Linked DNA regions of Homo sapiens: region 2 is linked to region 1. The links are contacts of gene promoters, found by promoter capture Hi-C in blood cells and fetal thymus (Javierre and others, 2016). All regions are on one chromosome and are shown on one strand. The core of a region is centred on a gene start or on the middle of the fragment in contact, and the rest is flanking DNA. Distances in the headings are between cores, read along the strand shown.

Evidence for each region. Contacts are between HindIII fragments. The CHiCAGO score rates a contact against its expected background, and 5 or more counts as called.
Region 2: a contact is called between the fragment with the promoter of SELENOI here and the fragment with the promoter of GTF3C2 in region 1, in 1 of 17 cell types (non-activated CD4 T cells). The highest score is 6.8, in non-activated CD4 T cells.

The regions. Positions count from the first base shown.
Region 1 is chr2:27,354,498-27,358,084 of GRCh38, reverse strand. It overlaps GTF3C2 (general transcription factor IIIC subunit 2), which reads left to right and starts at 1,321. Exons shown (of 19, transcript NM_001035521.3): 1 at 1,321-1,346. It overlaps GTF3C2-AS2 (GTF3C2 antisense RNA 2), which reads right to left and starts at 1,320. Exons shown (of 4, transcript NR_183827.1): 1 at 1,229-1,320; 2 at 183-277. RefSeq lists enhancers at 991-1,120, 700-1,313, 1,131-1,470, 1,521-1,800, 1,314-1,927. The HindIII fragment of the contact is 6,500 bases long and covers 1-3,587 here.
Region 2 is chr2:26,344,088-26,347,474 of GRCh38, reverse strand. It overlaps SELENOI (selenoprotein I), which reads right to left and starts at 1,332. Exons shown (of 10, transcript NM_033505.4): 1 at 1,186-1,332. The coding sequence starts at 1,242. It overlaps ADGRF3 (adhesion G protein-coupled receptor F3), which reads left to right and starts at 686. Exons shown (of 14, transcript NM_001321971.2): 1 at 686-1,354. The coding sequence starts at 1,241. RefSeq lists enhancers at 428-527, 640-1,407, 1,728-1,867 and silencers at 1,068-1,117, 1,178-1,237, 1,288-1,517. The HindIII fragment of the contact is 12,799 bases long and covers 1-2,634 here.

The DNA.
Region 1 (3,587 bases), core at 72-2,571:
AGTGTGATTTATAATAGCAAGGGACCATTGTTTATAACAGCAAAACCATGTAAATATGCATCAATATCAACAAGGCACTAGTTATACCACATCCACCCAATTAAATGCTAACTAGTTATAGCACAGAATGAGAAAGGTTTTTGTGTACAGAAATGGAATAATGGCCAAACTCAGTGACTTACACCTGTGATCGCAGCACTATGGGAGGCTGAGGCAAGAGGATCACTTCAGGTCAGGTGTTCAAGACCAGCCTGGTCAACATAACGAGACCCCATCTCTAGAAAAAATTAAAAAATTAGGCCGGGCGCGGTGGCTCATGCCTGTAATCCCAGCACTTTGGGAGGCTGAGGCAGGCGTATCACAAGGTCAGGAGTTCGAGACCAGCCTGGCCAACATAGTGAAACCCCTTCTCTACTAAAAAGACAAAAATTATCCGGGCTTGGTGGCGGGCGCCTGTAATCTCAGCTACTCGGGAGGCTGAGGCAGGACAATTGCTTGAACCCGGGAGGCGGAGTTTGCAGTGAGCCGAGATCGCGCCACTGCACTCCAGCCTGGGGACAGAGCAAGACTCCATCTCAGGAAAAAATAAAAATAAAAATAAAAACGGGGTCTCACTATGTTGCCCAGGCTGGTATCGAATTCCTGGGCTCAAGTGATCCTCCCCCGCCTTGGCCTCCCAAAGTGCTGGGATTACAGACAGGAGCTACCATACCCAGCCAAAGTCATGCTTTTCTACTCCTACTCCTTCCCTTCCTTGTCCTCTTTCCAAGCTCTCTCGGGCCCATCCCTGACTTCACTACTGGCAGAATCCTCCAGCGGCCGGCGGCGAGGACTTCTTTGTCTCCCAGACTCCGCCTTGGGCTCGGACGCCGCCAGGGTTGCAGGTACAGACTCTCTGGTCTAGCTGGCTCTTCCGGCCACAGGCGCGGCAGTCCGGCCGGAAAGGCCGGATTCAGGGATCCAGAGCGCGAGCCCGGCCTGGGAGTCCGCCTACTCCCGGCTCCCGTCGAGGCCGCGTGGGATCCCGTTGGCCGCGCAGGCGTCGATCTCCCCTTTTTGACACTGCAACTCCCATGAGGCCCTGCAGCGTCCCTGGCGCCGCTGAAGACGCCCTGGAACTCGGCTGGCTTCGGAGGGCTCGGTGACTCTGGCCGCGCTGCATTATGGAATACAGAGTCTAAGAGAAAACTAGCCCGGCACCGACTCCGGACCAAGCACACGTGTTTACCTTGTGCACTGGGGTGGGGGCGTCAGTGAAGAGCAGCTAACAAGATTTCGTCATAAGACCGCGACCAGACAGGCGGCGCCATCTTCGAACTTAGACTTCCGGAAGGACTTTGGCGAGGGTGAGTGTATCGCCGCAGCGGGTGTGTGGGGGGCCCCACAATTACTCCTCCCCCTTCTTTTGCCATAGCACTAAGATATTGGGAACAAACTCCTGGCTCCGCTCTTCTCCCAGCCACAGCAGCGCGCCTTTCAGCGTCTGCGCTCCTACAGAGCACCATCATGCTCCGCACCTTCCCTACTGTGGCCACCGTGCACCCCCCATCTCTGCAAGCCTCGGGTCTTGCCCTCCTCCCCCACGCGGTGTCGGTAACGCGGAAGCCTGTGTCCGGGCGTAGGCGCTGCATACGTAGCGTCCCTCGAACTCGGCGAACCTACAGTAGTCCTTGTTAGAAAAACCAGGGCTCCTCTCCCGCACAGGCTAGGGGAGAAATCTACCTTCACGCCCAGGACTGAAGAAGGGCAGGTGATGGCCCCTAGAGTGGTTGTGGGTCAATCTCTTTCAGCTGTGTCCCAGCCTCTTCCTCGAGGAGGCTCTTTAACCCCGAGGGTTGTGCCCCGCGCGCTGCAACGCCATTGGCGTAACCAAGGGCCAGTTGTGTTTCCCTGTCTAGTCCTTTTGTCCCGTGGCAAGTTGGCTGCCTGTTGGGGAAGTCAGAGGTGGCGACTTCAACTCCGTCGGAGGCAACTCACTTTGTTGGAGGGATGTATAGGGTATGGACAAACCTCTTTGTTCCAGAGGCATATACAATTTTAAGTCAATCCCGTGCCATCACTATTTTTGCAATCTCTTATCAATTGTACTATTGTTTTCTGAATAGTTCTCTTTAAATTGACTTACTTAAAAAGTTTAAATGCATTAGTCTCGACCTAAGCAATATAAATGAAACCGTGGGTTTCATGGGCTACTTATAATTGTTTATGTAAGTTGAAATAAAAGCACTAGTCATTAAAATGTTCGTTTTCGTACCATTAAAATCATCTTGCATACCGCCAGTTGTACCCTAGGAACACTTTAGGAAACAATATATTAAGCTAAGCAGTGTATTCAAAGTAATTTCATACTTAAGGTGCAGTGTTGTGTCATTATTTTTTCTTGGCTGGGGAGGTCAAGCTGGCATCCTGGAGCAGCATGGGAACCAGACAGATTGGGGTGCAATGGAAGGTTTTAGAAACTCAGTACGAATTTACTGATCATCTATTCCTTTACTGTGTATCCAGAATTTGTACCATTACATCCTGCTGCTGCCTTCCATGAGAAGTGTATTTTTTTTTTTTTTGATACGGAGTTTTGTTCTTGTTGCCCAGGCTGGAGTGCAGTGGCGTGATCTCGGCTCACTGCAACCTCCGCCTCCCGGGTTCAAGCGATTCTCCTGCCTCAGCCTCCTGAGTAGCTGGAATTACAGGCGCGTGCCACCATGCCCGGCTACTTTTGTATTTTTAGTAGAGACGGGGTTTTACCATGTTGGTCAGGCTGGTCTCGAACTTGTGACCTCGTTATCCGCCCACCTCGGCCTCCTAAAGTGCTGGGATTACAGGCGTGAGCCACCGTGCCCGGCCAGGCAAATTATATGTACAGGCAATTCATAAAAGTCATATGGATGTCCAATATATAGAAAGAAGTTGCTGACACCAATTATTATCAGTGCAAATAAATAGAGTGGGGAAGAATTCTTTCACCTATCAGATTGGCGAAAATTAAAAAGATCAGTAACGGTATGATAAAATGGGTACTAATATACATAAATAGTTTTAATTTTGGTGAGCCGTTTGGTAGTATCAAATTTTGAAATGTGCATGTTCTTCAGTGTAGTACAGTAATTCCATGTTCAGATGATTATTCGAGAAAAATAATTTATTGATGAATTAATGAAGAGATTTGTACTAGAATATTTATTGCAGTATTTTTTGAAATAGTATTTTAACTCATTTGTTCATTAAATGAAGATTGTCTAAATAACTAATTCTATGGAATGCCATGCAGCAATTAGGAAGAATGAGATAAATATATGTATACTGATGTAGAAAATCCTTTAAAAAAAACCGGAATCTTCCTCTGTCACTCAGGCTGGAGTGCAGTGGCGTGATATCGGCTCACTGCAACCTCTCCCTCTGCCTCTTGGGTTCAAGTGATTCTCCTGTCTCAGCCTCCCGAGTAGATGGGATTACAGGCGCCTGCCACCACGCCGGGCTAATTTTTATATTTTTAGTAGAGATGGGGTTTCACCATGTTGGCCAGGCTAGTCTCCTGACCTCAAGTGATCCATCTGCCTTGGCCTCCCAAAGTGCTGGGATTACAGGCG
Region 2 (3,387 bases), core at 83-2,582, 1.0 Mb after region 1:
CTATGTGACCTTCTAAGGACCCTTGCTTTTTTTTTTTTTAACTCGAGTTAAACAAAATCCATTATGACTTTTTCAGTTATTCATTCATTCCACAAATGCTTACTGGGTGCCTAGTATGCACATAGCACTGTGCTTAAGCCATGATGGTCCACAAGAAAACTCTAATGAGTTGGGCATTATATTCTAATGGCGAGACACGCTAAAGCAGCAATTCCATAAACGAACAGAGCGCACATTTAAGGGGGAAAGGGGCACGTAGGGAGGGCTTCTTTGAGGAAGCAATATTTAAGCTAAGATGTGAAGATGAACGGGTAACAACAAGGATGAAGGGTTAAAGCCCATATTTCAGGCTTGGTCGACTGGATGGTTAGAGTCATTCATTGGTAAAGGAACTGCGGATGGGAACCAGATTTGGAGGAAAGTTAACCACCCGCATTTATTTACTGGGGTCCTAGTATGTTGCCAAGCGCTTCACAAATTCCTCTAATCATTTTGCACAGCAGAAGCTATTACTTTCAGTTTCATACACAAAAGAGAGGCTGAGCGGGGTTAAAATGACGTGCCCAAGACGAAATAAAGAAATCTGACTTTTGTAATCAGGTTTGTATGTGCTCGAAAGCCCGCGCTCTTTCCACTCCACAGCTCCTTCCTGTGCACCTCCCTTTCATCTGGTGGCCCTAGCGCCACAAGCTGCCGCTTAGGAAGTCCCTGCCGGGAGCAGAAGTGGAGACATCAGCAGGATGGCATCGGCAAGTCGCTCCCCTCCCGGGCCTCATCTGCCAAACGATCATCTCCTCCTCCGAAGTTGTATGCATGACAGGCGAGTGGAAACTTCACTAAAATGAAGGCGATTGACACAACAGAAGGAACTCCATCCTTTCGGGGGCTTACGAAAATAATAAGTTTAAAAAAAATAGGAAGGGAATTCCCTCGCTCCATGATCACTGAGCGCTCTCCTAAGGAAAAGGAAATCTCCCGGGGGGTGCCGACTACGGGCGGCGGGCTTAGGATGCTCCCACGCTCCCCGACCCCCAATCCCCAGGACCCGCAGGACCTCCGGAGGAACGCCCGCCAGCCCGCCCGGAGCCACGCGGCACAAGGTGACACGGACCGCGCCGCGCGGGCCCCTCAGCCGCCTGGGCGAGGCCGGGAGCAGGGAGAGGGGCATCCGCCGGCCCGCGGTACCTTGTACTTATCAAAGCCAGCCAGCTGCTCCGGGCTCACGTATTCGTAGCCAGCCATGACGACCCGAAAACTGAGCGCCCACTCGGCAGCGACTCCCGGCTACAAGGCTGTGACACACAAGCACCACACCGGCTGGGCAAGGATGGCAAAGACTGGGCTGCCCGAGAAGGTAGGAGAGCCGCGCTCCGCCCACCGCGCACGCGTAGCCGCCTCGGCCCCTTCGGCCGCCTCTCAGTGCGCAAGCGCAGCCCACGCTTCTCCCCGCCCATCGAGGGGGGGTTGCTAGCCCGCTCGAGCGGCCCGTCCCCCGACACTGCTGTTGTCCAATCGGCGTGGATCAGGCAACACTAAGTCCCGCCTTCCAGCTCTCTTCGTCGCTTCATTTGCTAGCGTCAAAATTGGTGAGCTGAGGTAAGGCAAGAGAGGGGGTGAAAGGTCAATTTCCCAGCGGGCTTTGCTCCCGGTCCCGGGGGAAGGTGGGATTTCTGTGGTATCCGCACTTGCGTGGTGATCTGGGGTATACCGTTTTAGTCTTGGGGGTAGAGTGACTGCTTGCGAACCAGTTCAGCAGTGCCTCAGGTAAGAGGACTTAGTTCTCCCGCTGCAGCGAAGTAAAAGAGGAAGGAGGTCTGTACCGCGAGCCGCTCCCAGCTCCTGGTGCGGTGCGCTGCGTGCCGTAGAAATTTAGTAAACGTGGTTAGATGTAGAGAAGGCCGAGCTGCTGCCGGGGCCACGGGAGTCTTTGTGCGGTCAGCAGAGGGACTTGAAAGACAGGTGAAAGGACATTGGAGACAAGCCCCTCAGGTCTATGTTGCTTAGGAACCTTGGACCGCCTCATCGCACTCCGCTCTATCAAACCGTTCCAAATTAAGATTGCTGGTGTCTCCCGACCAGATAAAAGCAGTGATCTCTCAGTCTCGACGAGTCCTTAAATGCGTTTGCAAGAGGTGTTTTACATAACTGGAGCCCAGTTAATTGTAAAACAAACAAACAAACAAAAAACACTAGATCAATGGCTAGTGAGTATCTACTAATAAAATTTTATAATAGTTGCTGCTTTTTATTGAGCGCCTTCTGTGGGGAGAACTTCACATACATTATCAACCCCATAACAACACTGAAGTGAAAGGCATTATCCCCTTTTTCAGATTAGGCAGCCTGCCCAGAGTCACTTAGTTACGAAGCTCGGAAATGATCGACCCAACATGAAATGAGTTCTGTGTTATGGGAAACCACTACTTCAGGGAGCCTTTCAGTCTCTCTGGGTCTCTGAAATAAGGGCGATTATTTTGAGATACTTTTATGTTCATTCGTTTAACAACTATTTATTGGGGACCCGAGATATGCCAAACACAGTATTATTACTACATGTCTAATCTCCCCTCCTAAAGCATGATTCTTAGAAAGTAATAGATAATCTTATACCTGGTATATGGTAGATAATAAGCTTCTCCCCGCCCCCTGAGACAGGGACTGACTCACCCAGGCTGGAATGCAGTGACGTGATCACGGCTCACTGCAGCCTCGACCTCCCCTGGCTCAGGTGATCTTGCTTCCGTCTCCCAAGTAGCTAGAACTACAGGCGCACACCACCACACCCGGCTAAATTTTTTGCATTTTTTGAAGAATGGGCGCCCGCCAACCAATAAACTTCAGTGTCCTTTATCACACTTGCCCTCGAGGGCAGTATTTGCATCTTATACATCTTAATTTTCCCCATGTTCCATAACCCAGGGGGCTTGCAAATAATACATGATCAACGTATTTTATTGAATGAATGAGCAAAGATCTCTTTGATATGCTGTGAAGTACCAGTTTTGAGAAGAACATTAGAAATGAGAGTCTCGGCCAGGCGCGGTGGCTCACGCTTGTAATCCCTACACTTTGGGAGCCTGAGGTGGAGGGATTACTTGCGATCAGGAGTTTGAGACCAGCCTGGACAATATGGTGAAACCTCGTCTCAACTAAAAATACAAAAACTAACCGGGTGTGGTGGCACGCGCCTGTAGTCCCAGCTACTCAGGTTATTGAGGCAGGAGAATCGCTTGAGCCTGGGAGGTGGGGTTACGGTGAACCGAGATTGTGTCACTGCGCTCCAGCCTGGGCGACAGAGCAAGACTCCGTCTCAAAAACAAAACCAAAAAAACCCTTCATACTTGTAAAACTTAGTTAATTGTGGAAAGCCATAAAATGTGACTTCAG